Regions from separate parts of the Homo sapiens genome. Here regions 1, 2, 3, 4, 5 and 7 are each linked to region 6. Evidence: promoter capture Hi-C in 16 types of primary human blood cells and fetal thymus (Javierre and others, 2016). All regions are on one chromosome and are shown on one strand. The core of a region is centred on a gene start or on the middle of the fragment in contact, and the rest is flanking DNA. Distances in the headings are between cores, read along the strand shown. Region 1 overlaps LRRK1-AS1 (LRRK1 antisense RNA 1). Region 2 has its middle 25 kb from the start of PCSK6. Region 3 overlaps PCSK6 (proprotein convertase subtilisin/kexin type 6). Region 4 overlaps LRRK1 (leucine rich repeat kinase 1). Region 5 overlaps LRRK1 (leucine rich repeat kinase 1). Region 6 holds the start of SELENOS (selenoprotein S). Region 7 overlaps LRRK1-AS1 (LRRK1 antisense RNA 1).

Evidence for each region. The method cuts DNA at HindIII sites, captures the fragments that hold promoters and counts their contacts. A CHiCAGO score of 5 or more calls a contact.
Region 1: a contact is called between a fragment that was not itself captured here and the fragment with the promoter of SELENOS in region 6, in 6 of 17 cell types (total B cells, erythroblasts, activated CD4 T cells and 3 more). The highest score is 6.9, in total B cells.
Region 2: a contact is called between a fragment that was not itself captured here and the fragment with the promoter of SELENOS in region 6, in 1 of 17 cell types (M0 macrophages). The highest score is 5.5, in M0 macrophages.
Region 3: a contact is called between a fragment that was not itself captured here and the fragment with the promoter of SELENOS in region 6, in 1 of 17 cell types (monocytes). The highest score is 5.5, in monocytes.
Region 4: a fragment that was not itself captured here is called in contact with the fragment with the promoter of SELENOS in region 6 in 6 of 17 cell types (M1 macrophages, M0 macrophages, megakaryocytes and 3 more); the score reaches 8.1 in M1 macrophages.
Region 5: a fragment that was not itself captured here is called in contact with the fragment with the promoter of SELENOS in region 6 in 8 of 17 cell types (M1 macrophages, M0 macrophages, endothelial precursors and 5 more); the score reaches 12.9 in M1 macrophages.
Region 7: a contact is called between a fragment that was not itself captured here and the fragment with the promoter of SELENOS in region 6, in 7 of 17 cell types (total CD8 T cells, activated CD4 T cells, total B cells and 4 more). The highest score is 8.4, in total CD8 T cells.

What each region holds. Positions count from the first base shown.
Region 1 is chr15:101,094,000-101,097,483 of GRCh38, forward strand. The region is part of intron 1 of LRRK1-AS1 (LRRK1 antisense RNA 1); the gene reads right to left. Among named protein-coding and RNA genes, the nearest start is that of LRRK1-AS1, 56 kb to the right of the region's middle. The HindIII fragment of the contact is 2,400 bases long and covers 959-3,358 here.
Region 2 is chr15:101,512,627-101,515,971 of GRCh38, forward strand. No RefSeq gene overlaps it. Among named protein-coding and RNA genes, the nearest start is that of PCSK6, 25 kb to the left of the region's middle. The HindIII fragment of the contact is 2,780 bases long and covers 553-3,332 here.
Region 3 is chr15:101,457,146-101,460,316 of GRCh38, forward strand. All of the region lies in intron 1 of PCSK6 (proprotein convertase subtilisin/kexin type 6), which reads right to left. Among named protein-coding and RNA genes, the nearest start is that of PCSK6, 31 kb to the right of the region's middle. The HindIII fragment of the contact is 6,142 bases long and covers 1-3,171 here.
Region 4 is chr15:101,067,211-101,069,710 of GRCh38, forward strand. LRRK1 (leucine rich repeat kinase 1) reads left to right here. Exons shown (of 34, transcript NM_024652.6): 34 at 1,461-2,500. The coding sequence ends at 1,638. All of the region lies in intron 1 of LRRK1-AS1 (LRRK1 antisense RNA 1), which reads right to left. Among named protein-coding and RNA genes, the nearest start is that of LRRK1-AS1, 83 kb to the right of the region's middle. RefSeq lists enhancers at 324-989, 1,654-2,319, 2,320-2,500. The HindIII fragment of the contact is 4,126 bases long and covers 1-2,500 here.
Region 5 is chr15:101,038,814-101,041,935 of GRCh38, forward strand. The region is part of intron 20 of LRRK1 (leucine rich repeat kinase 1); the gene reads left to right. Among named protein-coding and RNA genes, the nearest start is that of LRRK1-AS1, 110 kb to the right of the region's middle. The HindIII fragment of the contact is 823 bases long and covers 965-1,787 here.
Region 6 is chr15:101,276,129-101,279,426 of GRCh38, forward strand. It overlaps SELENOS (selenoprotein S), which reads right to left and starts at 1,357. Exons shown (of 6, transcript NM_018445.6): 1 at 1,214-1,357; 2 at 413-547. The coding sequence starts at 1,289. RefSeq lists a silencer at 1,233-1,562. The HindIII fragment of the contact is 1,843 bases long and covers 472-2,314 here.
Region 7 is chr15:101,125,210-101,128,395 of GRCh38, forward strand. All of the region lies in intron 1 of LRRK1-AS1 (LRRK1 antisense RNA 1), which reads right to left. Among named protein-coding and RNA genes, the nearest start is that of LRRK1-AS1, 25 kb to the right of the region's middle. RefSeq lists a silencer at 1,647-1,696 and enhancers at 1,987-2,036, 2,327-2,436, 2,647-2,816. The HindIII fragment of the contact is 1,094 bases long and covers 1,185-2,278 here.

The DNA.
Region 1 (3,484 bases), core at 909-3,408, 180 kb before region 6:
TGACCGTTAGGTGCTAAGGGCCTGCATCCAGAAGACCACCCGGGCCCAGCCTACCTGGCGACGCATTCTTGCCTCTCACCTGCAATTGCTGAGGGTAAATAGATACATCACTTACAGATGCGTCAACAGGAAACCTCCCCCTCTAAGATGAGCGCTTAACGAAGACACTACAAACAGCTGAGGAAAACCCACAGCGAGAGAGAGTCACCAAACTCAACAGCTAAACCACCTAAAGAAAGTGAGTTCTTATTACAAAGAAATGGAGATTTTAAAAGAAGTATGTTGGTCGGGCATGGTGGCTCACACCTGTAATCCCGGCACTTTGGGAGGCCGAGGTGGGTAGATCACTTGAGGCTAGGAATTCGAGGCCAGCCTGGCCAACATGGTGAAACCCTGTCTCTCCTAAAAATACACAATTTAGCCAGGCATAGTGGGGACACCTGTAATCCTAGCTACTTGGAAGGCTGAGGCATGAGAATCACTTGAACCTGGGAGGTGGAGGTTGCAATGAGCTGAGATTGCACCACTGCACTCCAGCCTAGGCAAGAGAGTGAGACCCTATCTCAAAAAAAAAAAAAAAAGTCTATTAATGTATTTGGAGAAATAAAGATCAGGCCACTGTTAAAAAAAAAAAGGAACCAACTAAAGACCTTAACATATGATTGTTAAACATATGATTGTTAAAAGGAAAACTCAAGAAAGCCAAGGAGAAAAGTGGAGCCCCCTGAAGAGCAAGTTTCTGGAGTTTGAAGCCAAAGTCCTGTTCAGAATGTAGCACACAAGGAAAACAGCACGAAAACTGTGAAGGAAATGTGAAGGTGCATGGAGGATAGATGCAGAAGTTGCAAAACCATCTAATAGAAATTCCAAAAACAGTGGGTTAGAATTAGAAAACACTAAGAGAAACAGTAGACAAGAAATGTATTGCAACCTATTCCCCAAAAGCTTAAAAAGAGAAAGCTTGGATAGTTCAATAGCCAAAGAATTTGCATAGACAATAAAAGACTAAACTAGAAGACCGAACATTTTTTTAAATGCCTGGGCCCAGCTGTTTTTATAGACTTTTATTTATTTATTTATTTGAGATGGAGTCTTGCTCTGTTGCCCAGGCTGGAGTACAGTGGAATGATCTTGGCTCACTGCAACCTCCACCTCCCAGGTTCAAGCAATTCTCTGCCTCAGCCTCCCAAGTAGCTGGGATTACAGGCGCCTGCTGCCAAGCCTGGCTAATTGTTTTGTATTTTTAGTAGAGACAGGGTTTCACCATCTTGACCGGCCTGGTCTTGAACTCCTGGCCTCATGATCCACCCACCTTCGCCTCCCAAAGTGCTGAGATTACAGGCGTGAGCCACAGCACCCGGGACACTTTTTGCTTAACCTTCAAAGATAGGTAATTATCATGTTAGGTAAACTACTTTGGAGCATACAACAATCTAGAAAGTGAATTAACGTATTTTGCAGGATAATATAAGGTTAATTCCAAAACGAAAAGAGAGCACACTAATGATCATGTATGCAAATATTTTAATATATTAGCAAATCAAATCAAGTAGCATAGTAAAGGAATAACCCATCATGACCAAGTAGCATTTAATCCCAGGTAAGCAAGACTTGCTTGACAGTAAGACTCACTACGTTAGCTTAGTAGAGTAGGAAAAACTAGATGACCCGAACCTCTCAATAGATAGAGGCAGAGTAGGAGAAGAGAACATTTTAGCTGTTGTTTCCTTCACTTGATTAGGGCATTTTCTGCAGACCCACAGCAAAGATCCCATCTACTGATGAAGCCAAGACCCACAGCAAAGATCCCATCTACTGATGAAGCCAAGACCCACAGCAAAGATCCCATCTACTGATGAAGCAAAGACCCACAGCAAAGATCCCATCTGCCGATGAAGCAAAGACCCACAGCAAAGATCCCATCTACCGATGAAGCAAAGACCCACAGCAAAGATCCCATCTACCGATGAAGCCAAGACCCACAGCAAAGATCCCATCTACCGATGAAGCAAAGACCCACAACAAAGATCCCATCTACTGATGAATCCAAGACCCACAGCAAAGATCCCATCTACTGATGAAGCCAAGACCCACAGCAAAGATCCCATCTACTGATGAAGCAAAGACCCACAGCAAAGATCCCATCTGCTGATGAAGCAAAGACCCACAGCAAAGATCCCATCTACCGATGAAGCAAAGACCCACAGCAAAGATCCCATCTACCGAAGAAGCCAAGACCCACAGCAAAGATCCCATCTACTGATGAAGCCAAGACCCACAGCAAAGATCCCATCTACAGATGAAGCAAAGACCCACAGCAAAGATCCCATCTACTGATGAAGCCAAGACCCACAGCAAAGATCCCATCTGCTGATGAAGCAAAGACCCACAGCAAAGATCCCATCTGCTGATGAAGCAAAGACCCACAGCAAAGATCCCATCTGCTGATGAAGCAAAGACCCACAGCAAAGATCCCATCTACAGATGAAGCAAAGACCCACAGCAAAGATCCCATCTACAGATGAAGCCTATGAAACCTAGTTACTAAAGGCACCACTTTTTGCCCACCTGATTGTGAACATTTTGAAAGACTAATAATATCAAATGTTAGTGAGGGTGTACAGAAATTTCACCTCTCATGCACCGCCAAAGGAAGGTTAGGTAAACAGGAAAGTCGCCTTACTGAGCAATTTGATAACAGAAAAAACAAGAATGAAATTCTGTCGTGGATGAGCCTGGCACAGAAAGACAAATACCACACGGTCTCGCCCACATGTGGAAGCTGAAACAGTGGGTCTCATGGAAGAAGAAAACAGGAAAGTGGTTACCAGAGGCAGGGAAGGGTAGGAGGAGAGGGAGGATGGGGAGAAGTTGGTTAATGGATACAAAATTACAGCTGGCTAAGAGGAATGAGTTCTAGCGTTCTAGAGCAGCCCTCCCCAGCCTTTTTTGGCACCAGGCACTGGTTTTGTGGAAGACCATTTTTCCGCATCCCCCAGAGTTGGAGGTATAGTTTTGGGATGATTCAAGCGCATTTCAATTATTGTGCACTTATTTCTATTATTATTACATGGGACTATGTGATGAAATATTTATACAACTCATCATATTGTAGAATCAGTGGGAGCCCTGAGCTTGTTTTCCTGCAACTAGACGGTCCCTTCTGGGGGTGATGGGAGACAGTGACGGATCATCAGGCATTAGATTCTCATAAGGAGCGTGCACCCTAGATCCCTCACCTGCGCGGTTCACGATAGGGTTTGTGCTCCTATGAGAATCTAACACCGCTGCTGATCTGACGGGAGGTGGAGCTCAGGCGGTCATGTGAGTGATGGGGAGCAGCTGTAAATACAGATGAAGCTTCGCTCGCTCCACTGCCTCTCACCTTCCGCTGTGCAGCCCGGTTCCTAACAGGCCACAGACCAGGACCAGTCTGTGGCCGGGGGGTTGGGGACCCTATTCTATAGTACTGTAGGATGACTAC
Region 2 (3,345 bases), core at 693-3,192, 240 kb after region 6:
ATTTCTACAAAACACTCTGCTGGGATTTTGATTATTTTGATGCTAAATGTATACATCAGCTTGGGGAGAAGTATCATCGTAATAATATTGAGTCTTCTGATTCATGAACATGGCATGTCTCTCCATTGATTTAGATCTTCTTTAATTTCTTTCTGCAATGTTTTGTTGTTTCTAGTGGAAAGGTCTTATGCACCTTTGGTTAGATTTTCCCCTAAGTATTTTGTATTTTTCATGCTATTGTAAATGGTATTATTTTTAAAAATTTCAATTTTTAATTATTAATTGCTAATGTATAGAAACGCATTTGAGTTTCTGCTGTGTGCTAATCTTATATCTTACAAACTTGTTGTACTTACTTCTTAGTTCTAGTAGTTTATTTTGTAGGTTCTCTCAGGATTTTCTACATAGACGATCATGTCTGCAAATGAAGACAGTTTTTCTTCTTTATTTCCATTTGGATACAACTTTTCTTCCTTTTTCCCATCTATCTTTTTCTTGCTTTATTTAATGGTCTAGAACTTTCAGGACAAGGCTGAATAAAAGAAGCACAGAAGCTTCTATTCACACAGAAGAAGACACCCTAGTGTGCTTCTAATCTTAGAAGAAAAGCATTCAAGTTTTTTTTTCATTCAAAAGATCATTTTTATTAGAGGTACAAAGTCGTAATCATAAAAGAAATCTTGTGAGGGAGTGGTGACTTTATTTGATACAACACAATGTACTGAAACATGGTTGCTGCTTTTCCTTTTTTAAAAAAATAGACTTATTTTTTAGGAAGTTTTTGGTTCACAGACAAAATTGAGCAGAAAATATAGAGACTACCCATATACCTGCCCCCACACCACACACAGTCTCCTCCATTATCAACAGCCCCCACCATGGTGGTACATTTGTCACAATCCATGAACCTGCATTGACACATCATTATCACCGAAAGTCCATAGTTTACATTAGGATTCACCCCTGTACATTCTGTGGGCTTAGACATGTGTATGATGACGTGTATCTATCATTATAAAATCATACAGAGTAGCTTCACCATCCTAAAAATCCTCTTTTCTCATATTCGTCCCTCTCTCCCCGAACTGCTGGCAACCACTGATCTTTTTGACGGTCTCCATAGTTTTGCTTTTTCCAGAATGTCATATATTTAGAATCATACAGTATGCAGCTTTTCCAGATCGTCTTCTTTCACTTGGTAACATGCATCCAAGTTTCCTTCGGTCAGGTGTGGTGGCTTGCATCTGTCATCCCAGCTACTCAGGAGGTTGAGGCAGGAGAGTCACATGAGACCAGGAGTTTGAGACCAGGCCAGGCAACATAGCAAGACCCCATTTCTAAATAAATAAATAAATAAATAAATAAATAAATAAGATTAGCTGGGCATGGCGGCCCGTGTCTGTAGTTGCAACTACTCAGGAGGCCGAGGTGGGAGGACTGCTTGAGCTTAGGAATTCAAGGCTGCAAAAAGCCATGATTGCACCACTGCACTCCAGTGGGGTGACAGAGTGAGACGCTGTCAAAAAAAAAAAAAAAAAAAAAAGAGGTTCTGATAGCTTGGTAACTCATTTCTTTTTAGTGCTGAATAATATTCCATTGTATAATGTACCACAGTTTATTTGTCCATTCACCTACCGAGGGACGTCTTGGTTGCTTCTAACTTGGGAATTATGAATAAAGCCGCTATGAACTTGTGCACAGGTTTTTATATCAGCATAAGTATTTTCAGCTCATTTGAGTACCTGCCCAGAAGTGAAATTGCTGAATTATGTGGTAAGAATGTGGTTAGTTTGTAAGAAACTGCCAAATTACCTTCCAAAATGGCTGTACCGTTTTGCATTTCCACCAGCAGTGAGCGAGGTCCTCTTGCTCTGCATCCTCGGCAGTGTTTGGTGGCGTCAGTGCCCTGGATCTGCGCCACTCTTCTAGGTGTGCAGTGCTATCTTCTTGTGGTTTCGAACAGTCTGTTTTCACCATGAAGTATGATGTTCTAGTTTGCTGAGAGTTTTTATCAGGAATTAAAGTCGGATTTTGTTAAATACTTTTCCTACATCTATGGAGATGGTCAAGTGATTTTTCTTTTGTAGTTTGCTAATATGATTAATTCTTTTTCTTTTTCTTTCTTTTTTTTTTTTTTTGAGACAGGGTCTCACTCTGTCTCCCAGACTGGAGTGCAGCGCTGTGATCATGGCTCACTGCAGCCTTGACCTCCCAGGTTCAAGCAATCATTTCACCTCAGCCTCCTGAGTAGCTGGGACTACAGGCACAAGCCTCCACACCCAGTCAATTTTTTTTTTTTTTAATTTTTGGTAGAGACGAGGTGTCGCTATGTTGCCAAGGCTGGTCTCAAACTCCTAGGCTCAAGTGATCCTACCACCTCAGCCTCCCAAAGTGCTGGAATTACAGGCTTGAGCCACTGTCCCTGGCCACATCAATTGATTTTCAAATGTTAAACCAATCTTGCATTTCTGGGTTAAACCCTACTTGGTAATGAAGTATTTTCACTCTATTTCTTGTTAGATTCAGCTTGTTAAGTTTCATTAAGAAATTTTGCATCTATGCTCATGACAGGTATTTGCTTGTCTTTTTCTGATTTTGGTAACAGGGTAATCCTGGCTCCATAGAATGAGTTGGTATTCTGTCCTCTTTGATTTCCTGAAAGAGTTTGTGTGGAGCTGGTATTATTTATTCCCTAAAATGTATGGTAGAATTCACTAGGAAAGTCATGTAGAGCTGGAGTTTTCTTTCAGGAAAGGTTTTTACTTGCAAATTTTATTTTTTAATAGATATAGGCCTATTCAGATTTTTTTATTGTGATAAGATATTCTTAACACAAAATTACCATTTAAGTGTATAATTCAGTGACATTAAGTACATTCACAATGTTCATTACCACTATTCCCAGAACTTAAAAAAATTATTCCAAACAGAAATTCTGTATTCATTAAACAATATCTCCCTCCTCCCAGCCCCTAGTGACCTCTGTTCCTCTGTATAAATTTGTCTATTCTAGGTACCTCATATAATTGGAACCATACCATATTTGTCCTTTTGTGTCTGGCTTACTTAGCATAAAGTTTTCAAGGTTTATCCACGTTGCGGCATGTATCCAAACTTTATTCCTTTTTATGGATCTTGATTTCTTTTTGGGTGAGCTTTGATAGCTTGTGTCATTCAAGAAATCTGTCTAAGTTGCTGAATTTATTGGCATAATGTTATCTATAATATTTTCTTATCTTCCTTTTCATATCTGTAGAGTCTGTAATGATGTCACATCTCATTCTTGTTGATAGTTTGTATCTTCTCTCTTTTTTCTGATTTTCCTGTCAAGAAGCTTATCAATTT
Region 3 (3,171 bases), core at 344-2,843, 180 kb after region 6:
TGAGCAACAGAGTGAGATTCCATCTCAAAAATAAATAAATAAATAAAAATAAATAAATAAATAAAAATCTCAACTCAGCAGTTGAGGTCTTGGGCCTTGGAGCCAAGGACTACCCAGATCTGAATCCCAACTCCTCTGTTTAAGTGAAAAGGATCTCTGAGCAAGTTCCTAAATTTCTCTTCAGCTTCCCTTTCCATGCATTGGGATTAGCAGCATTTCCTTGCCCAAGGTTTCTAGGGGGATAAATGAGGCGTGATGCATATGGAATGCTCGGCTCACGGCCTGGCACACAGAGAGCAGCCCCAGCCTCCCAGGGCGCAGGCTGGTCAGCTGGGTTTTTTCATAGTATTTCTTAAAGAAAAGAACAAGGATGCAGCTCCCTTTGTGGGGGGAAGTGCATTGCAATAAAGCTAGTTGCAAAGTTAGAGAAATCCCATTTGCCCTTTGATTTCAATTCTTAAAAATATATAGAGTGCTTCTTTATCAGTGGCCCCTGTGGGGAAGATAATCCCACCTAGACGGAGCCATACAGGGCCAAGGTGAACAGTACAGGGTGCAGGGCAGAGGGGAGCCGAGGAGCTGTGCCGGGGACAGCCCACACACAGGCAGCCCTGGCCACCCCTCTGGGTGTGCAATACCATTCGTGTCTGGCAATCCATTTTCTTGAAACTAACTTATTTCTTATCCATAAAATGAGCCTGCGCTATCTGTCCAATTCCAGACTGAAACATTTTTTAAGTCCAAAACTTCTGATTTTGTAAAACACATTCTGGCCTTATGTCATCTCTTATGCTCACATTCCATCTGATGTTTGCTTACCCCCTACCAGCGCTGACATCTGGTGTCTGCAATACCCTCACAGATGGTTGCCCGTGGTACGTCCCTCCAGAGGTGGAGCTGGGTCCAGCCACGTTTTAGGTGGCTTGCAACAACATGGTCAGACACATTCGTCCTGCTCTCTCAGAGGTCTCCATGGCTGTTCTACTCATGCTGGGCTATCAGGCAAGACACAGTAAAGACCTATGTGACTGCCATGTGCACTATCTCAGCAAACAACCAGCAAGTTCACCCAACTATTTCTAGGTTGGTGGGCACAGGTCGTGGTGATAGGGACGTGAAACCCAACTCCAGTGCTGTGTGTTCGCTTTGCCCCAGTGGGTTTGAGTCTCTGCAGCAGACAGCGCACATGTTGAAAGGGGTTTCCGCAAGGCTTTGAGCTGAGGCATAAACCCAAATGCCGTAGAGACCCGAGCTGGGCAATGTGGCCCGGGCTATACACAGTCACTGGACCCCCGGGCTGTACACAGTCACTGGACCCCCACAGGACCCGGCTTCTTAGGAGGGCCCTTGGTACAGACTCCAGCAAGGCTCCTGACTGTTGTTTGCTCACCATTTACAGACCATCGTCTGTCTCCAGGGACTGTGCCTCACTCTCCCTTTCACCATGTGTATCTTCTCCAGCGCAAACAGACCCCAGCACCCGAAGCGCGACTGACGGTCCCAAAGGCTCCACATACCCAGCAGATTGGCTCCTCGCTCCTTCCGAAGACTCCCACTCTGCTCTGTTTCTCCCCAGCGGCAACCACAGACACAAACTCTGTCAATCATTCACGCTCTCTGCGACGCGTCTAATTACTCACAATGCCACCTCTCTAACCTCTTTCTTGAATCCAGGCTAAATTTAGCAGTTTTGGGTATACCTCTGTCAGCTTCTACCTAATTCCTTCACATCCATCTCACTTGGAAAAAACAAACTGCCTTCCATTTCATTTAACCACCCCGACATCCCGCAAGCATGCTGGATGGGCCTGGATTTTACTACTGACAGCTGTAGGACTGTGGTTCACGAGCCACGTGTTCAGAGAGAAGTGGCGTGTGTGTAGCTTCTCTCAGCCAAGGGAGAAAGGCTTCCGGACAGAAGAGAAACCCTCTCCAGGCCACCTCTCCTCTCCCAGCCTCACTGCTAGCTCCGCCCACTGAGCCCTTGGGAATCCCTATTATATACAAACATCTATTTTGAAGCCAAAACAAGGGAGAAACTCCTCTGCACCTTTGGTGCTTCCTCACACACCCTTGGCTTAGCTGAAAGCCCCTACGTGCCTGCACAGGGAATCATGTGTGTGCTGGCTTCCTCCATCCTGTTGCCCAGCTGTAAGTGTCCAGGCTCTCCCTTTTACTTCCTAGAAACATCCTGGTTGCACAATAAATTCTGTGGCCACAGTAATCCTACCAGGAAAGGACAAATCCAGGCCCACCCAGTTCTCCCGGCTTGCTCCGCGTCTCCTCTCCCTAAGTCCACATCACCTGCTGCCACCATTCCCGTCCCCCCACCCTAAGTCCACACCACCCGCTGCCACCGTTCCCGTCCCCCCACCCTAAGTCCACACCACCAGCTGCCACCATTCCCGTCCCCCCCACCATTCCTCACTGCACTATCATTGGGCTCCCCCTCCTCCATCACCATTGTGCCACGCCTCCCAGGTAACTGACTCTGCTGACACCCTGAATCCTGCCCTGTCCCCTCCATCCCAGCAACTATGAACACAGCTCCAGCTGGGCCCCTCACCAACACCCCTCCCTCACCCTGATGCCTCCCACCCATGGTGACCTTGGTGGTTCCTGGTCCTCCATCCATGCGCCTGCCACCGGGTCCTCCAACACCCTCAGTCCCTTTAGGCAGCTGTTTCAACCACGTTCTCCTTAGAACCCTAGACAGCCCACGCCCCCACCTTCTGAAACATTTTTAAGTCGCAAACTTCTGATGTTATAAAATGAGTTCAGGCGTTACATCATCTCTTAGATTCACAGGTCTGTAAAGAAAAATTCACCTCGAGGGAGAGAGATGTGCGTTAGGTTCTGTGAAATTCCATCTGATGTTTGCCACCCACTATCCCAGGCCCCACACTGAACTGAGGGCCTCCTCCCCACACAGCCACATGGCCACCACTATGCCCCTATGAACCGTCACACAGGTCCCTCTCCTGCCCAGGAAGACCCCCCACGATGGCCTGGGCCTACCCAACCCCACCCCTCCGTGTCCTCCTCTCTGTGGGCTCTCTCTCATCTCCCCTCAGAAGACTCTCTCCTGCCCCTCTTCTAAAGAGGGGTCTTTCCCAGGGCCTCTGGTCCCTGCCCCAGCCTTTTCCTGCCCTCTGGCCCTCTTTCGAGATG
Region 4 (2,500 bases), core at 1-2,500, 210 kb before region 6:
AGTACCTGTCTGTGGGTGGGGACCCCCAGGATTATGCCAGTCTCCTCTGTGAAGGTATGCTGGGCAGGGTGGCCTGTCCGGGACATGGTCTACATGGTTGCAGTGATGTGAGGCTGGCGCCAGCTGCAGCTCCCCACAGTGTTTACACCCCGCACTTTGACTACCGAGCCCCACACGGTAAATCTCCCCTACGAAAAGTCCTCAGTTCAAATGTGTGTGTGTGTGTGTGTGTGTGTGTGTGTGTGTGTGTGTGTACTTTGGAGCTCTTCCATTTCACACTAGGCCTGTTTCCCTGCAGCATGAGTTATCCCCCATCCCTGGGCAAGTGGGTTTTTATTTCATCTGGAGCATAAGAGGGTGGAGAAACACCAGTCAGCTTGCTTCTCCCAAAGCAGGACAATGACAAGGACATCCTTGGCAGTCGCACTCCCTTGCCTGCCAGCTTTGAACTTTTGCAGTGAGTCCTGGGCCAGTGACCCTTACTCTGTAAGTGGTTCTGGAAGCAAGATCTGGATCTGCTCCTGAGCTCTGGCAGAGCCTGTGGGTAGAAGCCTTGAACTGATGGAGTTCCCAGCTTGCAGGTCGGGCTTCTGGAGGAAATGGGTGTGCAGCACCCAGGTTAGGACCTTGGCATACCTGCCATTAATGTCCTAACGTTTAGCTGTTGTTTTTCTCCTATTCATCCCTAAAGCCAGATTTTACCTCTTTCTCGCTAGAGGGAGGCTCCTCCCCTAAGGGGAGGTCCTGGCAAGGCCACGCGGAGTGAGAGGTCCCTGGACATCCCAGTTTGCAGGAGCACCTCAGTGCCACGCAGGCCGCACACACGGGACACAGAGGGAGGAAAGGCAATTAGTATGTGCTTGGGGTGGGGCACCACCAGGGCAGGGAGGCCACACTGTGGCCCAAAAGGAAACCTGTAGCACACACCCACCGATCCTGCAAAACTGTCCACAGTTTCAAAAAATGTATATAGTGATGACTTTGGGGCAGTAGGTTTTCCATTTAATATATGATCCTGTATTTCCTAAGCCTGTAGAAACAGAATGAGAGAAGAATCTTACTGAGCTTAGTGGCAAGGGAGTTGAGTTAAACTCGGTCATGAGCCATTCACAAGCAGAAATTTGGGTCAGTGGTGTTTTCTGGACGCTTTGGGAGCTGAGTCAAGGATGCATGATCTGATTGCCTCTGTGGCCTTCCAGGGAGTCTGACTCTTACAGACAAAGCCCATGGACGCGAACTCATGCCCACAGCCCGTCTTTGGACTTTATAAAGCCTAAGCCCACAGGCTGGCCACTGGGGAGAAGTGGTGCATCTCAGCACACCCCAGAGAGGGCTGGCAAGCAGACACACTCCCCTGCCCTTAGCCAGCTCCGCCTTCCTCAGAAGGCACAGGGGGAGGGTCCCAACCCCACCCGAGTGGGAACCCCTGTGAGTTTCCTCAGACCCCCTTCTCTCTGCAGGGTGCTGGTGGATGCTGCCGTGGTGGCAAAGGACACTGTTGTGTGCACCTTTGAAAATGAAAACACAGAGTGGTGCCTGGCCGTCTGGAGGGGCTGGGGCGCCAGGGAGTTCGACATTTTCTACCAGTCCTACGAGGAGCTGGGCCGGCTGGAGGCTTGCACTCGCAAGAGAAGGTAATTCCTGTGGAATGACTGTCACACATCAGAGCTGGCTGGCCCGGGGCTGCAGCCTGACCCCTCTGCCATCGGCCTCTAGTTCTCCAAGGACCTAGAAGACAGATGGAGTTCTCCCCTGAACTCCTTGCTGCTAAGAAGTGCTGAGAAGTTACTCGCCTGGCGGTGGCTCCAGGGTTCTCTGGTTCTCTGGAGCAGAGTTCTCTGAATACCCCATCCCCCAACTGCTGATTTTACAGCCCCAGGGAAGACAGTGGTATCAGGCTGGGAGCGGCCTCCTCTGGCCTCCCCCATCAGTTTGCAGGAGCAGGGGTGCAGGATCCTGTTCTGAGCTGGGTCAAACAAAGCAGGGCCGGGCCTTCCTGCCATCCCCAGGTCTCAGATGGAATTACACTAGAGGCCCTCCGCTGGGAAGCACTTGAGGTAGGGCAGGAGGGGGGCTGTGACCCCTGCCCTTTCCCCGCCAGAGACCTCAGGCTCTCAGCACATTCCACAGGCTCCTGAGTCCCCGAGGCCTGGGCCAGCTTGGGCAAGCCAAGATCAGATGTCTCTGTGTTCGGGAAGGTCTCCGTGTGGGAAAGCCCTTGGGGGATCCCGGGTGAGGAGTGTTGCCCCATCCAGAGAATGAATGAGTTCCTTTAAGTGCCACCGCCAGCAAGCCCAGAGGCACACAGTCCGAGTGCACCCGCTTAGCCTTTACATTCCTCTCCACCGACAAAAGGAAGGGGAAACTCAATCAGCAGGACTTCAGAAAGGGCCTTGTGTTTATAGCTTTGTCAAGTAAATTTGGACGCAGCTGGAGCACAGGCCCTGTTTGTTTGCACATAATAATCTTGTTTATCACTTTAAAAAATTCAGTAATATCT
Region 5 (3,122 bases), core at 126-2,625, 240 kb before region 6:
CATGGCACCCTGCGCCAGTGGCCATCTTGCCTTCTTCTGTGCAAATCTCTCTCTTCCCCCATCTTTTAAGCACACTTGTGGCTGCACTTAAGGTCCACCCAGATAATGTGGGATCTTTCCCCCATTTCAAAGTCCATAACTTAATCACATCTACAAAGTCTCTATTTCCATGTAAGGTAACAATCACAGTTCTAGGGTTTAGGACCTGGATATTTTGGGGCTCATTATTCAGCATATGACACCCTCCAATTTTGTTCTTCTGTTTCAAGATTATTTTGGATTATTCTAGATCCTTTGCATTTTCATCTAAATTTTAGAATCAGCTTGTCTGATTCTTAAAAAACCGTTGTGATTTTTATGGAGATTACATTGAATCTATAGATCAAAGAAAGCTGACATCTTAGAAATATTGAATCTTCCAATATGAACATGGTATATCTCTCATTTATTTTGGTTTTTAAAAAGTTTCTCTCCACGGTGGTTTGTTTTCAGTATTCAGATTTTCTGCATCTTTTGTTAAATTTGTGTCTACATAATTTATGTTCTCCGATATGGGTAAATGACATATCTTCTAATTTGATTTCCATTTCTTGTTGCTGGTATACAGAAATATAATTTATTTTTAAATATTTACCTTATATCAAAAAACCTTGCTAAATTCACCTATTAGCTCCAGTAGATTTTTCAGGATTTTCTAAGTATGCTTCTTTTTTGAAAAAAAGACAGTTTTACTTTTTTCATTCTAATCTTCACATATTTTTTTGCTCTGTTTGCCTGATTGCATTGGCTCGGATCTCTAGCGAAGGTTTAAATAGAAGGGATGAGAGAAGGCGTCATTCTGTGTGATCTCAGGGGGGAAGCATTCAGTCTTTCACCATCAAGTGTGATGTTTTCTGCAGAGCTTTGTTATCCATGGAAACTTTATCAGATTGAGGAAGTTCCCTTTTATTCCCAGTTTGCTAAAAGCTTTTATCATAAATGGGTACTGAATTTTGTCCCCCAAAAATGCTTGTTCTGCCTCTGTTAATTTTTTTCTTCAGTTATTTTTCTGTTAAATATGTTGATGGATTTTCAAATGTTAAACCAACTTTGTATTCCCAAGATTCATACCAAGTGTTCATGATTTATTATCTTTTTTATCTAATGCTAGATTTCAGTGGCTCCTATTTTGCATAAGAATTTTTTAATCTATGTTCATGAGGGATATTGGTTGGTACTTTGATGAAAAGTCTTTATGGGTTATCAGACATAGGCTGTCTTCATAAAATGAATTGAAAAGATTTTTTTCCTTCTCTATTTTCTTCAAGATTTTGTATAAGATTGGTGTTAGACCTTCCTTAACAGTTTGATAGAATTTATAGCCTGGAGTTTACTTCACAAGAGGATTTTTAATTACAAATTCAATCTATTTATTAGCTATAGGGTTATTAAAATTTTCTATTCTTGTGTCAGTTTTGGTAAGTTATTTTTTTTTCAATAAATTTTTTCATTTCATCTATGGTGCAGAATATATTAATATAAAGATATTTAAAATATCTCTGGAATGTGTAGTGATATGCTCTCTCTCCTGATATTAATAATATGTCTTTTCTCTCATTCTTTCTTGATCAGTCTTGCTAAGTGTTTATCAAATTTTTGGAACCGTTTTAAAGAACGAACCGTTGCCATTGCTGATTTCTTCTATTATTTTTCTCTTTTATTTCATCTATTACTGCTCTTTATTATTGTCTTCCTTCAGCTAACTTTGGGTTTAATTTGTGCTTCTTGTTCTTCCTTCTTAAGGTAGAAGCTTAGGTCATTTATTTTAAGCCTTTCCTATTTTCTATGTAAGCATTTAAAGCCATAACTTTCTAAGCACTGCTTTATATGACAAATACAACTAATTTTGCTATGTTGTGTTTTTATCATTTAGTTCGAAAGATTTTCTAATATATCTTATATTATTTTGGTCAGAGAATATATTCTAAGATTTCTGTATTTTGAAATTCACTGAGACTTATTTTATGGGCCAATGTGTGATCTTTCCCAGTGAAAGTCTGGAGTGCACACAAGAAACGAGTTTTCTGTGTTGTGGCTGTAGTATCTTATAAACCTTAATTAGCTCAGAGTGGTAAACAACGTGTTCAAATCTTCCGTATTCTCACTGATTTTTTTCCTACTCATTCTATCAATTACTAAGAGAGAGATGGTAAAATATCTAATGATAAGTCTACCTCTCTCTCCAGTTCTGACAGGCTTTATTTTATATATTTTGAAGCCATTATTGGTTACATATACACATTGGTGTCATGCCTGTGTAATGAAGTGACCCTTTTTTCATTATACAATGTTTCTCTTTATCACTGGTAATACTCCTTTTCTTGAAGTCTATTTTGTCTGATGTTAAAATAGCCACACCAGCTCTTTTAGTTCTACCTGGGTTTTTTCCCTATTCTTCTAGTAGCAGGTTATGATCTCTATAAAAAAGGAATCTCTTGCTGACAGCACATTATCCAATCTGATAATCTCTGCCTTTTAATAGGAATATTTGATTCATTCACATTTATCATAATTAATTATATGGTTGGGTTTAAGCCTACTATTTCTCTATTTATTTTGTATTTATACCATCTGATTTTGTTATTTTGTTCATTCTTTCCTGCCTTCTTTTGAGTTAAATTTTATTTTAGTATTTTCATGCTCTCTGTTGGGTTTTTGGCCATTCTTCCTGGTACTGTGTTTTAGTGGTTACTCTTGGGATTAGAATATGCATCCTTACCTTATCACAATCTACTTGTAATTAATATTATACCACCTTGAATTAAATGCAAAAACCTTAGCACGATACCAGGACATTACTCCTCCCAGCACCCTCTGTACTCTTGCTGTCATCCACGTTTCTTCTATACAGTAGTCCCCCTTATCCACAGCTGGTGGATTTCCAGACCCCCGTGGATGCCTAAAACTGCGATAGTATTGAGCCCTACATATACTATGCCTTTTCCTTTATCTACATACCTATGATGAAGTTTAATTGTAAACCAGTAAGTGATTAACAACACATAGAAATTAACAACAATAACAACAAAACAGTATAATTATGATATACTGTCACAGAAGTTACATAAATGTGGTCTCTCTCT
Region 6 (3,298 bases), core at 107-2,606:
GCCAGGCTGTTCTCGAACCCCTGACCTCAAGTCATCCTCCTGCCTCGGCTTCCCAAAGTGCTGGGATTACAGGTGTGAGCCACCGCGCCCCACCGAGAACCATATACTTCCTACTTTTTTTTTTTTTTTTTTTTTAAAGACAAGGTCTCAATCAATTGCCCAGGCTGGAGTGTAGTGTGGCCCGAGCATAGCCCACTGCAGCTTTGACTCCCTGGACTCAAGTGATTATCCCGCCTCAGCCTCCTGAGCAGCTGGGACTACAGGTGCGTGCCGCCACTCCCGGCTATTTTTTTTTTTTTTAAATAGAGACAGGGTCTTCCTGTGTGGCCCCTCTTACTTTTACTAAGAGACTAACTCTTAATATAAAGGAGGTGCAAAACCACCGCTTTCATTTCGGTTATCAGGCACTAACCCACAGCAGCCGCAGCTCGGTCCAGCTGCCTCTGCCTCAAGGCTCTTAGCCGGGCGGAAAGCTTCTGAAAGACCACGTAGAGAAGGATGCAGCTGAAGACGATGTACCAGCCATAGGTGGCCAGCAGGGAGCCCACTGAAAAGAAAAACAGTTTTCAAAAAACTAAAAATGACACTACTAGTTGACCTTTCCATAAGACTCAACAAACACAAAGTGTAACTCCTGCCCTCAAAGCCTTCATGGTCTAGGCTGAGGAAAAAGCCTCCTAAGTAGATCGTTAAAACACGAACTCAAGAAGTGCGACAATTCAGGGATCACTGAGAAGTGAGACTTCCCAACCATCTGGGGAGTCGGGGGCAGTTAGAGTGTGGAGGGCACAGCAACTGGGTTTTGAAGAATGAAGAGCAACTAATCTGAATCAGGAAGGCAAAGGCCTTTCAGAGCCACATAGAAAGGGGTGACAGCGCGGGGAGTCAGGAGTGTGTATGGGGCTGTGTGGGACGGGTCCCAGAGGCAAACGCCAACGGCCGAGTGACCCCAGTAACTACCACAGGAAGGGCTTGGTTCGCAAAAAAGACTTGCGCAAACAAGGGACAGCCGAGCCGCCCAGGGAAGTGCGGCTCCCGAGAAGCCTCCGCGCAAGGTCCGGGCCTGCTGCCCAAGGTCCGCGTAAGCGCCAACGCCCGACCGTTCCCAGGCCTCCCAGGCTCCGGCGCCCGGTGCAGCGGCGGACGACCCACCCATCATGGCTGCGCGTCGCAAAAGTGGCGGCGCGCGCCCGGCTGCCCCGCAACGACTCACCCGTGGTGTGCAGGAAGCGCAGCCCCTCGGTCTCCAGGGCCGGCCGCGCGGACAGAGACTCCTCTTGGCGTTCCATGACCGCCGCCGCCGCCGCCGCCCAGCCCTGCCGCCGCGCCTCCAGCCGGGCGCTTCCGGTGCGCTCCTACGCACACGTGGCGCGCCCGGACGCGGTCGTGGTCCCGGCCAATCGCAGGCCGACCCCGCCCCGTCGCTGGGCCAAACGCAGGGGGGCGTGGCCGAGGGGCGTGGCGGGGGAGAAATCCCGGCTACGCTCGCCGGGGCCGGGACAGCGCGTGTGGGAACGTTCTGTGCTATCTCTTGGCTTGAGTCGGGGGTGGAGGACGGACCTCGTTCACGGATTTCTTACCGAATTTCTACTTTCTTTTTTTTTTCTAATTGGACACTGAAGCCAAGGAAGTCAGTGGTCGCCCGGAAGCAGGATTTGCACCCACATCCTTGCCCGGGGCACATTGGACAACAGGGCTCAGTTGGTTGACGACTCCCAGCATTTGAGGGTTGCAGCCAACGTCCACCCCAAGTGAAGACACGAAATGTGAGCAGCCTCCTGCTCCTGCTGCTGGTGATACCTTTCAGGCCAAGAAAGTCCCCACCGATCCTCAAGGTTCTTTCTCCAAAATCAAAGCCTTTTAGGAAAGAACGATCATAGTAACTGCTCTAACCTGTGTTGAATTATACTGTATCACCACAAGACACGATCACAGAGTTACTTATAATAGTGTCCTGGCTGTGTTCCTCTGCCTGCAACGCCGTCCCGCACCCTCTTCCACCACTCAAACGTCACCACCTTTATGGTGACCATAACCATCCTATTTGAAATGTGACCTTGGGTTTTTCTGGAGCATTTGAAGTGCACATACCTAGCTGTGTTTCAAAAGAAGGGTTGGGAATTGGGAATAGAACTGAAAAAATAATGAATAGGTGACAACATCCGAGTGCTGCGTCACCACTGTCGCCAGGAGCAGTGTGGGGAAGGCAAACCATGACATGAAGCGTGAACGCAATCAGTGTTTCTTCAATGCAGGTTTGCCAAGAAGTTCCTCAAGGGGGACAGCTGCAGGGATTTGAGCACTGACCTCATCAAGCTTTCCCAGCAGTGTGTTCAGAAAGCAATAAAGGGGACCTGGCATTCATGAGCCATAGCAAAGAGAAGCCTGAAAGCTCTTCTTCCCTGTTGGCCACCTTGAAAATGGACTCCTCAGATGAACCGAGGACTCTGGATGTTATCCATAAAGGCTGTGAAGATAGCTTATCGATTTAATGAGGAATTTTAGGAGGGAGAATTTCCTTCTTCATGTTTGCCTTTCCGTTGTAAAAGGTGATGAACCATCACCACTCTTTGCTTTGCTACAGATGATTTCTCACTTGCTCTGGCATCTTGCAGGAACATTTATGTGCTAAATTGAATGACTTCTATGGAATTAGTTGCAATTCTCAGTCCCAGATTAGCTTTAAATCCGCCTTACATCTAAATACTGATAAACTAGACAGGATGAGCAGGGTTGCCTCAACTATTTTGTTAGGCTGTGAAGGACATTAGGTATACCGTACTGGGGTCATAGTTCATGGAAAAAAATGGTTAGGGCCTCACTTTTCTCTCAGGAAACTCATACCAAAACAGTTTCAATCAATGCTTGGGAGCAGTTTTATTTTTATACAGTAACTTAACAGGATGGTTTAACACAAGAGTTCCCCATCTTGACAAGGTGTCAGATGAAGACTTGAGAGCTTCAAGAATGTTGCAGTGGGCCAGGAGTGGTGGCTCTTGCCTGTAATCCTATTGCACTTTAGGAGGCTGAGGCAGGAGGATCACTTGAGGCCAGGAGTTCAAGACCAGCCTGGGCAACACAGCAAGATCCCATCTCTACAAAAAAATTTGGCCAGGCACGGTGGCTCACGCCTGTAATCCCAGCACTTTGGGAGGCCGAGGTGCATGGATCACCTGAGGTCAGGAGTTCAAGACCAGCCTGGCTAACATGGTGAAACCCTGTCTCTACTAAAAATACAAAAATTAGCCAGGTGTGATGGCGGGCGCCTGTAATCCCAGCTACTAGGGAGGCTGAGGCA
Region 7 (3,186 bases), core at 482-2,981, 150 kb before region 6:
CAAGGGAATATGATTCAGGAAGGAAAGCAAAAGGAAGGGAATTCTGACATGCTACAATATGGAAGAACCTTGAAAACATTACGCTAAGGGAAAGAAACCAAATGCAGAAGTCACCTATTATATGATTTCACTTCTATTAAATTCTGAGAATAGGCAAATCCATGAAGACATAGACTAGTGGCTGCCCAGGGCTGAGGGAAGTGAAGAGTGACTGCTCGTGGTATGGGGTTTATTTTTCAGGTGACAAAGATATTCTAGAATTAGATAGCAGTGAAAGCTGTACAACCTTGTGAGTACGGTTAAAGGAAAAAGAAAAAGCAAACACTGAATTGTATACTTTAAAACAGTGAATTTTATGGTATATCAATTATATTTCAGTAAATGAGACAAAACATCTGCAAAAGATAAAACTTGGGCAACTACTATATTTTCTCTAATATTTAATTTTCTTGATTTGTTCCTTAGTTTTAAATTAATAATTTAAAAAGAACATGTTTCCAATTTTAAATATATCATTCCAATGTAGTAAAATATTTCATATATGAACTAAAATGTCCCCTCACCTTGCAGTTTGTGCTCTTGTACTGTTTTTTGGGGTTGTTAGTTTGTTTTTGAGACTGAGTCTCACACTGTCACCCAGGCTGGAGTGCAGTGGCGCGATCTCGGCTCACTGCAACCTCTGCCTCCTGAGTTCAAGGGATTCTCCTGCCTCAGACTCCCGAGTAGCTGGGATTACAGGCGGCTGCCACCACGCCCAGCTAATTTTTTGTATTTTTAGTAGAGACAGGGTTTCACCATGTTGGTCTGGCTGGTCTTGAACTCCTGACCTTGTGATCCGCCCACTTCGGCCTTCCAAAGTGCTGGGATTACCGGCAGGCATGAGCCACCGCTCCTGGCCTCTTATACTGTTTTAAATGTTAAACACAAACAAGACTTCAATGGTCACACAGAATACAGAATTGAAGTAACTTAAGTTCCGAATCTTCCTCTTTCCGATCACTGTGCTATTGTTGCTTCGTCAAATCTGCTGTTTAAATGTAGGAATTCACAGCACCCTGGGGCACTGGAGACGTGAATGATGTCCAAAGTGGCTTCAGACGGCTCACAACTTACTTTTGAAAAGCACATTTCTGGACCGACTTTATACCTGGGAGTTCTGAAATTAACTTTCACTTGGAATACAAAGCTTATCAAAGGATAATAAATAAAATCATGTTGATTTGAAGTATATATATATATACATAAACCCTCACAATTGTTTAGAATTTAGATCAACAAAATATTTTCCCTGGCAGGAGTATTTAATCATGCCTGGTAATTAGAAAAACAAACAACAGCAACAAAAACACCAGTCGTCTGACTTAGTAGATTTTATTATTGTGACTTCAGTGACAGTGTGTCACCTCGCTGCCTGAACCCAGGCCCACAGCTCCCACTACCCCGCCCTCACTTTCTATTTCCCTAGCGCTTTGAAGATTCCATTTTACCCACCGCAGGAGAACATTATGAGGCTAGGTAATATAATCCCCATTTGACAGATGAGAAAGCAGGGGGCCCAGAGAGGCTTATCCAAGGGCCAGCAGGAGGGGACAGAGCCTAGAAGCTGGTTCTGCAGGGCTCAGCTCCCACTTCTCAGGGCACAGTCCCGACTAGCCCCTCTTATTAGTGACCGTGGGTGGGTCTACTCCCCACAGTTCCGGCTGCCAGACTTACCCAGGCTGTGCCTCATCCTCGCAGTACCTACCTGCTCTCAGCTTGGAAAGAACCTGGAAATTCATTCACACCCAGGTTCTGAGGGCTGCTAACAGGCTTCTTTCCCAAGAGGTAATTGCCTTTATCAAAGAGGGTGCTCTTTAATGAGCTGAAAGAATGCCTCTGCAAGTCGGGCCTCCTCCCTAGGCTGCTGGGATCACTGGTACACATCTGTTCTCCCCCATCTCACCTCAGGAGTAGTTTGCTCCCCAGGGAGGAGCCCTGCCTGAGAGTAAATCCAAAGAGACGTCCCACAGTTAACTCAGCCTCAAAAGCATTTGGAGTTGCAAACTAAATGACATAGTCTCATGACTTGTGTCTGATTCTGTGGATCTAAGAAAATCCAGTTTCTCCCTAACTAACGCCAGCATCCTACAGCCTAGCCTCTGCCTGGTGAACACAGACAGCCTTGCCGGGGCCTGGCAGAAGGAGTGCTAAGAGGACAGGGCCTCACAGACCCTAGAAGTGGGTCTCACCCTTCTCAGCTCACTCAGATGCTTTGTCTCCAGAGTTCTCAGATTTACAAAGCTTAATGAGTGCCAATTTACTCATTATTGTCCTCCCAGGCCTCACAACGCATTAAAATCCTTCTGCACAGACAGATTAGGAGACAAGCCTAAGGAAAACGTACATCTGCTTTAAAAAAAAAAAAATGCAGTTTCAGGTTCCACTTTACATCAGCCAGGGTTTAGTTACAGGAAACAGAAACCACTCTAACAATTTTAAGCAAAAAGGGGTTTAGACAGGAAATTAGGGGCTTACCGTTTTATTGAGAGGCATGGGCCAGGCCTATTGGCGTGGTGCCCGGAAAAAGGCCTGGGGACCAGCCGGCTGGGCTCTGCTAGCCTGACTCCACTCAGCCAGGTGGGGGTCGGGAGGCTCCCAGTGCTGTACCATACCTGCCTCTTGACCCCACAAAGGGACTGAATGGACCCTGGAACGCTGCCACAGGAAAAACAACCACCACAACTTTGCTCGCCAGCAGAAACGGCCAAAAGCAGCAGGAGGAGAGTCTTGGCCTCTGAATCATAGTGGTGTGCGAAGAATTGGCAGGACTATGGATGTGCTGGAGCTGGCTCAGCCTAGTGACAGCCAACGGTGCACGGCAATTCCAATTCCAGGTCCAGGGACACCAGGGGATAGCAAGATTGAAATTGACCACAGTGGATATATTTACACCATGGAAATCAGCAAGCACTAACAGCCGGGTTGCTTTTGTTTTGTGTTGTTTTTTTGTTTTTTTTTGAGAGCTGGTTGTTAAACATTGACCACCGGGCATAACCCATTTCACATTTAGAACTCTAGCGGCAAGGGAAGCGGGAAAAGCAGTGGCTCACCTTCCAGCCTTTGAAGGAACAGCGAGGAGAGCACACAGAATGCTAGCTGCCAAGCCGTCCTCCATGACACACACTCCTAGGAATGTACCCTGCAGTA